Linked DNA regions of Homo sapiens: region 1 is linked to region 2. Evidence: promoter capture Hi-C in human tissues and cell types (Jung and others, 2019). All regions are on one chromosome and are shown on one strand. The core of a region is centred on a gene start or on the middle of the fragment in contact, and the rest is flanking DNA. Distances in the headings are between cores, read along the strand shown.

Region 1 (5,210 bases), core at 2,182-4,681, 180 kb before region 2:
GAAATCACTGTGACCCAGTGTGATTTAATTAGGAGATTAGATCAAAGTCTGAGGAAAATACCGTGAAACTCATGGGATTTTTTCATTTCTGAGGATGTGAGTCTCCAAGAACTTCGGGACTTCTTTTCATAGTACCAGCTCTTCTTTTCATCAAAGGTCATAAATAGTAAGACAAATTCTCTCATGTCCATAGGCATGTTGCTGTCCTTATGTAGTATTCCTTTTTGGCAGATTAGGAGGGGACCTATCAAGCCTGAGTGAATATCTTTTTCCTGGAAAAACAGAGTAAATTGTATTGCCTCTTTCTCAGGAATTTCCTTGCTCTTCTGATAATCACTCATCATATAGAAAAGGAAACTTTCTGATAGGCTCTGAATTTGAAGATGAAGATTATAAATGAATGGCATAATAAGCCTGGATATTTATCACCTAATTCTGTTGTATTCATAATCCTCCTTCCTCTGATTGATCTTTATCCCAGTAACAATGATGATAATAATAAATTGATAATATAAGGGATACTATTTATTGAGAATCTATTACTATATTAAATGATTTGCCTGCAATCTCCCATTTAATCCTGACAACTATCTTATATGGTAAATATAAATTCATTCATTGAACAAATATTTACCAAGTGCTTACCATGCACTATGTACTGTTATCTCATTTTTAACTTCTGATACCAGGCTAAGAGAGGTCAAGGAATTTCCTAGGATTATGCATTGACAGGGTAAAAATTTAAATCTGAGTCTGTGCTCTTTCCACTATGCCTGAAATGGAGGAGTTGTTTCTCTTTTTAATTGACAGATAAAATTGTATGCATATACTGTGTATGACATATTGTTTTGAAGTATATATACATTGCAGAATGTCAGATAAAGGAGTCTTGACTTTGCAGTTCTTTTCATAAAGAAAGAGCAGAACATAGCTAATACTTGTTCAAGAAAATTTCAAATAAATGCCATCTTCTGTAAATGTAGGCATTCTAATTCATGGCCAATCATTCAAGTAATCTTTCCTCCTCTCCACTGAATAAATGTTTCTCTCTCTGTCATCTGAAGAGCTGCATGGAGAGTCCCTGGTTATGATAAATGCAGACTGTTAACCACACCCTTATGCATTCCTCATGAAAAGCAAGACAGACATTTGACAAGAAATAACCCCGACTCTTCCATTTGGTGGACTTCAGATTACGAGGTTAGGGGAATGAGAAAAACTTTCAATGAAAGTACCTACTGGGTTCACAGCTGAGTAGTAGGCCCAAGCCCGACAGGCAGAGCCAGGACTTTCTGGCCCTGATCGCTCAGTGGCATGCCATACGTAGGTATAACTGCTATTTGGCTGAACAGCATTATCTTCCTTAAACCATTCAGGAGAGTCATCTTCATAAGTCTTTCCCTCTGATGATTTTTCATAGGAAAGTCCATGGGCATGTAGAGAATACGGTCTGGATGCTAAATTTTTAAAACGAACCTAGGAAAAGGAATGATCCACAAATGTACTTAAGCTTAACAAAAATCTAAACCACAAAAATGTCAGCATTATAAGTCAAAATGGCTGGTTATAAAATCGGAGCTAAGATATAAGGTACAAAATAACTTATGTATATTATTTCATTTAATTTTCATAACCATCCTGTGAGATATGGCCCAAGTAGTTTTCTCCAGAAATACCAAAAGATATTTGTTCTTAGGCTCAAGGCTAAAGTACTGACATTATCTACTAATGAAATGAGAGTGATAGGTAGTGGAGATGTGAAGATGAAAGAAGCTTGATTCTTGTTCATAAGAAGCTTTTAAGCTCCTGCTGAAACAGACATGCACATGGGCATCCACACTACAAATCTGGAGACAACAGGTGCTATATACAAAGTCTAAGTGGGTTCAGATGACAATGCCCTGGAGGAACAATTTGGTTGAATATTTAGGAGTGGTTGGAAGAATTAAGGTAAGTTTCTTAGAGGAAATGGAATTGGCCATCATAGAATGAACAGGAGCTAGAAAGACATTTCAGACTCTCAGAAGGGCAGAAGGATGCCTGTGAGCAGGGGAGTAAAGGAAGAGTTTGGGGAATAGCAAGGATCTCGGTGGAACTGGGCTGTGAAATGCACAGGGACAGGTGGAACCTGGTGAGAAATGAGGCTAGAAAAGGAGCAGGTTGGGGCCAGATGGTAAAGGACTTAAATGCCATATGAGAAGTCTTCACACCCCAGCAGTCAGACCCATGAAGCTCCTCCCAGCCCTTCTATAACTTCTAGTGATTAAAGACTCCCTAATTGTCTGTTCCTTATTTTATTCTACAAAGCCAGCATCACCCTAATAACAAAACCTGGCAAAGACACAATGAATAATGAAAACTACCGGCCAATATCTCTGATGTACATAGACACAAAAATCTTCAACAAAATATTGGCAAACCAAATCCAGCAGCAAATTAAAAATTAATTCATCACAATCACATAGGCTTCATTCCTAGGATGCAAAGTGGCTCCACATATGCAAATCAATAAATGTGATTCACCACATAAACCGCATTAAAAACAAAAACAGTATCATCATCTCAATAAATGTGGAAAAAGCTTTTGATAAAACCTAACATCCCTTCATGATAAAAACCCTCAACAAACTAGGCATTGAAGGAACATACTTCAAACTAATAGGAGCCATCTATGACAAACCTACAGCCAACATCATACTGAATGAGCAAAAGCTGAAAGCCTTCCCCGTGAGAACTGGAACAAGACATGGATGCCCAATCTCATCACTCTTATTCAACATAGTACTGGAAATTCTAGTCACAGCAATCAAGCAAGAGAAAGAAATAAAAGGCAACCAAAGAAGAAAAGAAGTTAAAGTATCTCTCTTCATTGGCAATATGATTCTGTACCTAGAAAACCCTAAAGACTCCATGAAAAGGCTCCAGGAACTGATAAATGACTTCAGTAAAGTTTCAGGATGCAAGATTAATGTACAAAATCAATTATACAAAATAAAATGTACAAATGTACAAAATAGCATTTCTATACATCAGTAATGTTCAAACTGAGAGCGAAATCAAGAACGAAATCCCATTAAACATAGCCACACACACATACAAAATACCTAGGAAAACATCTAACCAAAGAGGTGAAAGATCTCTATAAGAAGAATTACAAAACACTGATGAAAGAAATCATAGATGACACAAACAAATGGAAAAACATTCTATGCTTATGTATTGGAAGAATCAGTATTGTTAAAATAGCCATTGTGCCCAAAGCAATCTACAGATTCAACACTATTTTTTAACAACTACTGGAATCATTTTCCTCAGGATTAGACAAAGCTATTCTAAAATTCATATGGAATCAAAAAAGAGCCTGAATAGCCAAAGCAATCCTAAGCAAAAAGAACAAATCTGGAGGTATCACAGTACCTGACTTGAAACTATACTATAAAGTTACAATAACCAAAATAGCATGGTACTGATACAAAAACAGACACATAGGCCAATGAAACAGAATAAAGAACCCAGAAATAAAGCCACACACTTACAACCACCTGAACTTTGACAAAGTCAACAACAACAGCAACAACAACAACAAAAAACAAGGGGAAAAGGACTCATATTTAATAAATGGTGCTGGAATAGCCGGCTACCCATATGTGGAAGAATGAAACTGAACCCCAATGAATCCAATGAAACTGGATTCATCATATACAAAAATTAACTCAAAATGGATTAAAGATTTAAATGTCAGACCTCAAACTATAAGAATCCTAGAAGAAAAACCTAGGAAACACCATTCTGGATATCAGCCTTGGGAAAGAATTTATGACTAATTCCTCAAAAGCATTTCAACAAAAGCAAAAATTGACAAATTAAACTAAAGAGCTTCTGCTCAGCAAAAGAAGCTATCTACAGAGTGAACAGACACAGAATAGAAAAAATATTCACAAAGTATGTATCTGACAAAGGTCTAATATCCAGAAACTATAAGATAGTTAAACAATTGAACAAGCGAAATACAAATAACCCCATTAAAAAGTGGGCAAAAGACATGAACAGATACTTATCAAAAGAAGACATACAAATAGCCAACAAATGTGAAAAAAATGCTCAACATCACTAATCATCAGAGAAATGCAAATCAATACCACAGTGAAATACCATCTCACACCAGTCAGAATGGCTATTAGTACAAAGTCAAAAAATAGATGCTGGTGAGGCTGTGAAGAAAAGGGAATGCTTATACACTGCTGCTTAGAATGTAAATTAGCCACTGTGGAAAGAAGTTTGGGGGTTTCTCAAAGAATTTGAAACAGAACTACTATTTTAAGGGAGGAGACCACCCCTCATATTGTCTTATGCCCAATTTCTGCCTCCAAAGAAAGAAGAAGTAAAAACTAAAAGGCAGAAATGAAATCCACAAGCAGACAGCCCGGCGCCACACCCTGGACCTGGTAGTTAAAGATCGACCCGTGACCTAATCGGTTATGTTATCTATAGATTACAGACATTGTATAGAAAAGCACTGTGAAAATCCCTGTCCTGTTCTGTTCTGTTCTAATTACTGGTGCATGCAGCCCCCAGTCACGTACCCCCTCCTTGCTCAATCAATCACGACCCACTCACGTGGACCCTCTTAGAGTTGTGAGCCCTTAAAAGGGACAGGAATTGCTCACTCGGGGAGCTCGGTTGTTGGAGACATGAGTCTTGCCAAAGCTCCCGGCTGAATAAAGCCCTTCCTTCTTTAACTTGGTGTCTGAGGGGTTTTTGTCTGTGGCTTGTCCTGCTACAATTTGACCTAGCAATTCTATTACTGGGTATATAGCCAAAAAAGAAAATAAATTGTTCAGCCGGGCGCAATGGCTCATGCCTGTAATCCCAGCACTTTGGGAAGCTGAGGCAGGCAGATTGCCCGAGGTCAGGAGTTTGAGACCAGCCTGGCCAACATGGTAAAACCCTGTCTCTACTAAAAATACAAAAATTAGCTGGGCATGGTGGTGGGTGCCTGTAATCCCAGCTACTCGGGAGGCTGAGGCAGGAGAATTGCTTGAACCTGGGAGGCAGAGGTTGCAGTGAGTTGAGATCATACCTCTGTACTCCAGCCTGGGCGACAGAGTGAGACTCCATCTCAAAAAAAAAAAAAAGAAAGAAAGACAGAAAATACATTGTTCTACTGAAAAGACACATGTACTAGGATGTTCATCACAGCATTATTCACA
Region 2 (5,036 bases), core at 730-3,229:
ATGGTAAAGAGCATCATAAAATAAACATTTTGAACAGAGTTTTGAATGAGCATTCCACTAGAATGCAAGTTCTAAGAGGGAAAAAACTGTTGTGTCCACTGCTGTATCCTTAGTGCCTAGCATAAATTTCACACATTGTAGGGACTCAGAAAATACCTGTTGTATGAAAAGAGCACTAAGTTTCTATGTGACACAGTGCAGACATGGCATAAGGAATGTGTGAACGGGAGAGTTAGCATGTTTGCTTGGCTAGAGCTGAAAATCCAGGCTAGGGAGAAAGAAGACATTAGTTTACTTAGGAAATGAAAAACCAAGTTCAAAGCTATTGCTGGAGAGTCTTCAAGAATCAGATATAAAATTTGTCACAACAATGGGAGAAGGACCAAAAAATGATAAACCCCCGTCCCTTAATAAGCTCGTATTGTAATTGTAGAAATGACATTAATGTACACTGAACTATGAATAAAAAATAGAAAATGAGGTGCTAAATATTTGGTACAGATTGTAAGTACCTTAACAGAGATTTCTTAATTAACATTATTCCTTTATAATTGAGGGATTTTGTGGGGTTATTGGGATTTGAACTCTACAGCATGGGCTATTATAGGTTAAAAATAGTGTTCAGGAGTTTCTGGGGAAGAACTAAAGGTAAGAAGAAAAGAGATGTTTACAGAAGGGATAGAATTAACAGCTCTGTGAAATAATTTTCCCTTAGACTATGTATAACTAGTGGATATTTAAGAAAAATGAATATAAGTAAAATAGACTTAGCGATATATAAATATCATAACATACCACAACAGAGCATTGTCCACCCCCACAACTTGAAGATGTTCCATAAGTCCCTCTGGGTGCTCTGACATTTCCATGGAAATATCTGCAAATGAAATACAAAATTATATTTAGATGTATACTCTTAAACCACACATTTATAGCCTTTGAGGTGGTGCTTACAACTTTCTTAATAATCAGAATAAAACACATATGTCTACTAACCCTGTCTGAGGTAACAGGTTTCTCAGACATAGATGAAAAATTACTTCAAATTTACATCAGAACTGATGCACAGTTTTGTTTTGTTCTATTTTATTTTTACGCTTTAGTCTCAAGTTGCTAATCGGTACTGCCCTGAATTTTTTCTATGGTTTGGTAATTTTTATACCTGCTTTTCTGCTGAGCTATTAGATAAAACTATTTAATATTTACTATGTATATTTTTTAAAGTATTGTTGCTGCTTAATTAACTATTGATGCTTATATTTAATGTTATAGCCTCACTCTTGATCATAATGGGTCAATGCCTCAAATACCTAAAAAAAAAAAAAATTAGATAGCCAGACACCAGGAAAGAAAAGTATTTCTTTTTTTAATAAAAAGAAATACCTTTTTGAGCAACTGAAATGACAAAGTCACAAATTTCCTGCACACCTTAAAATATACTTAATGTAAATGACGAGTTAATGGGTGCAGCACACCAACATGGCACATGTATACATGTGTGACAAACCTGTATGTTGTGCACATGTACCCTAGAACTTAAAGTATAATTTTAAAAAAATTCTATCTTCCAAAGCATATCACTTCTCAGGTAGACACAGTGTTTATTGCAAAAGATCTGATTTCAATAGTATTTCTTCAAGAGTCTCCCCAGAGACAAAGTCAAGAAGAGGAAATCAGCATATCTGAGAAGAAAGATTTCAGGATCACTTTTTTTGAGGGTCTGAGAAAATGTTTAGTTTCTATATTATTTAAAACCAGAATTGAAATGGGGTGATTCCTATCCTTGCCACCTGCCTCTACAACCCCAAGAGTTTCTATCTGAGCATCTAAACGTCTTTTAGGCTGAAAGGCTCACCATGGCTTTGCTTGGTCCTTCTCTAGTTCTTCTGCAGCCCATTGAGCCTCTTGACTTAGCACAAGGGTCTCAGGTCCTTGCCCAAAGGGAGTGTGCTGTGCTGCAGGTAGACTGCACTGAATGTCAACAGAAAGCCTTGCTTTCTTTCATTTCTCTAACCCAGTCTCACATCCTCCTCCTCCTCCCCTTTTCCCTCCCCTTCCTCCTGCACTTCTCTTTCCTCTTTCCCCACCCCTTTCCTAGACTGGCCTCTATTGCCTCCCACTGAGACAAAAATGAACTGCTGATCAGAAAGTAATGTGACTAGATTCTCTCTTCCTTCCCTCCTTTCTATCCTTCCTTCCATTCTCCTATGCATCTTTCCTTACCCTCCTCCTCCTTCACTCATTGTTGTTGCTGTTCTTCTTCCTCTTCTTTTTCCTCCTGCTCCTCTTCTTCTACTTGTTCTTGTTCTTGTTTTTGTTTGGTTCTTGTTCTCCTCTTCCTCCTTCTCTCTCTCCTCCTCCTCCTTCTTTTCCACCACCCTCCCCTATCTTTTTCATAAATGCTAAACTAACTCTTGGCTACCTGTGGTAAATGGCCCTTGGAAATTGCAAATACTACAAATCAAAACTGCATTTCAGACATATTTATGATGTTTGCAAAACTTCAGTAGAGCTAAGCAGTGGACTTGACTCGTTTCGGTTCCTTCACCTCCGTCTTTCCTTGCTCACCACCTAGTGGACGTCCTTGTTAGTGGCACTTCCTGAAGTTAACCCCTGAAGAGAGCCCATGCTCTCTAGCTTTTCACCGTGTAGGTTTGGGAGCCTACAAGTACCTTTAATATTCTTGGACTATAAAATGAGATGGTTTTATAAGACTGCATGTGAAATTAGGACCCATATGATGAAGGACAATAAAAAGGAAGACCCACTGATGTGAGTCAATGAGTCAAATGCAAATCAGATTTGCATTTTTAGGAAAATAATAATAACAACAACAAAAACTCTGAAGCTCAGCGCCCCATATTTATTATATTGTTTAATCTTTATAACAGCTCTCTGCTATAGATATGATTATTATCCCCATTCTAAAGAGTCTCAAAGAGGTTAAGAAACAAATTCAAAAACTAGCGAAAGACAAGAAATAACTAAGATCAGAGCAGAACCATAGGAGGTAGAGACACGAAAAAGCCTTCAAAAAATCAATAAATCCAGGAGCTGCATTTTGAAAAGATTAACAAAATAGATGGACCACTAGCTAGACTAATAAGAAAGAAGAATCAATAGACACAATAAAAAATGGTAAAGGGGATATTACCACTGATCCCGTAGAAATACAAACTACCATCAGAGATTACTATAAACATCTTTACACAAATAAACTAGAAAATCTAGAAGAAATGGATAAATTCCTGGACACATACACCCTCCCAAGACTAAACCAGGAAGAAGTCAAATCCCTGAATAGACTAATAACAAGTTCTGAAATTAAGGCAGCAATTAATAGCCTACCAACTAAAAAAAGCCCAGGACCAGATGGATTCACAGCCAAATTCTACCAGAGGTACAAAGAGGTGCTGGTACCATTCCTTCTGAAACTATTCCAGAGAATAGAAAAAGAGGAACTCCTCCCTCACTCATTTTATGAGGCCAGCATCATCCTGATACTAAAACCTGGCAGAGACACAACAAAAAAAGAAAATTTCAGGCCAATATCCCTGATGAACATCATTGCGAAAATACTCAATAAAATACGGCAAACTGAATCCAGCAGCACATCAAAAAGCTTATCAACCACAATCAAGTTGGCTTCATCCCTGGAATGCAAGGCTGGTTCAACATACACAAATCAATAAACAGAATCCATTACGTAAACAGAACCAATCACAAAAACCACGTGATTATCTCAATAGATGCAGAAAAGGCCTTGGATAAAATTCAACACCCCTTCATGCTAAAAACTCTCAATAAACTAGGTATTGATGGAACGTATCTCAAAATAATAAGAGCTATTTATGACAAACCCACAGCCAATAGCATACTGAATGGGCAAAAACTGAAAGCGTTCCCTTTAAAAACTGGCACAAGACAAGTATGCCTCTCTCACCACTCCTGTTCAACATAGTATTGGAAGTTCTGGCCAGGGCAATCAGGCAAGAGAAAGAAATAAAGTGTATTCAAATAGAAGAGAGGAAGTCAAATTGTGTCTGTTTGCAGATGACATGATTGTATATTTAGAAAATCCCATTGTCTCAGCCCAAAATCTCCTTAAACTGATCAGCAACTTCAGCAAAGTCTCAGGTTACAAAATCAATGTGAAAAAATCACAAGAATTCCTATACAGCAATAATAGACAAACAGAGAGCCAAATCATGAGTGAACTCCCATTCACGATTGCTACAAAGAGAATAAAATACCTAGGAATCCAACTTACAAGGAATGTGAAGGACCTATTCAAGGAGAACTACAAACCACTGCTCAAGGAAATAAGAGAGGACACAAATGAATGGAAAAACATTCCATGCTCATGGGTAGGAAGAATCAATATCATGAAAATGACCATACTGCCCAAGGTAATTTATAGATTCAGTGCTATCCCCATCAAGCTACTACTGACTTTTTTCACAGAATTAGAAAAAAACTACTTTAAATTTCATATGGAACCAAAAAAGAGCTTGTATAGCCAAGACAATCCTAAGCAAAAAGAACAAAGCTGGAGGCATCATGCTACCTGACTTCAAACTATACTACAAGGCTATAGTAACCAAAACAGCATGGTGCTGGTACAAAAACAGATATATGGACCAACGGAACAGAACAGAGGCATCAGAAATAACACCACACATCTACAACCATCTGATCTTTGACAAAGCTGACAAAAAGAAGCAATTGGGAAAGGATTCCCCATTTAATAAATGATGTTGGGAAAACTGGCTAGCCATATGCAGAAAACTGAAACTGGATCCCTTCCTTACACCTTATATAAAAATTAACTCAAGATGGATTAAAGACTTAAATGGAAGACCTAAAACCATAAAAATTCTAGGAGAAAACCTAGGCAATACCATTCAGGACGTAGGTATGGGCAAAGACTTCATGACTAAAACACCAAAAGCAACAGCAACAAAAGCCAAAATTGACAAATGGGATCTAATTAAACTAAAGAGCTTCTGCACAGTAGAAAAAAAAAAACTATCATC

Evidence for each region. The method cuts DNA at HindIII sites, captures the fragments that hold promoters and counts their contacts. A contact is called where the count stands out against the background at its distance.
Region 1: a fragment that was not itself captured here is called in contact with the fragment with the promoter of SELL in region 2 in 1 of the 25 tissues and cell types used here (H1 embryonic stem cells).

Annotation. Positions count from the first base shown.
Region 1 is chr1:169,529,547-169,534,756 of GRCh38, forward strand. F5 (coagulation factor V) reads right to left here. Exons shown (of 25, transcript NM_000130.5): 15 at 1,240-1,476; 16 at 62-272. Among named protein-coding and RNA genes, the nearest start is that of SLC19A2, 46 kb to the left of the region's middle. RefSeq lists an enhancer at 2,060-2,229. The HindIII fragment of the contact is 3,580 bases long and covers 1,642-5,210 here.
Region 2 is chr1:169,709,641-169,714,676 of GRCh38, forward strand. It overlaps SELL (selectin L), which reads right to left and starts at 1,980. Exons shown (of 9, transcript NM_000655.5): 1 at 1,856-1,980; 2 at 796-877. The coding sequence starts at 1,858. The HindIII fragment of the contact is 4,341 bases long and covers 716-5,036 here.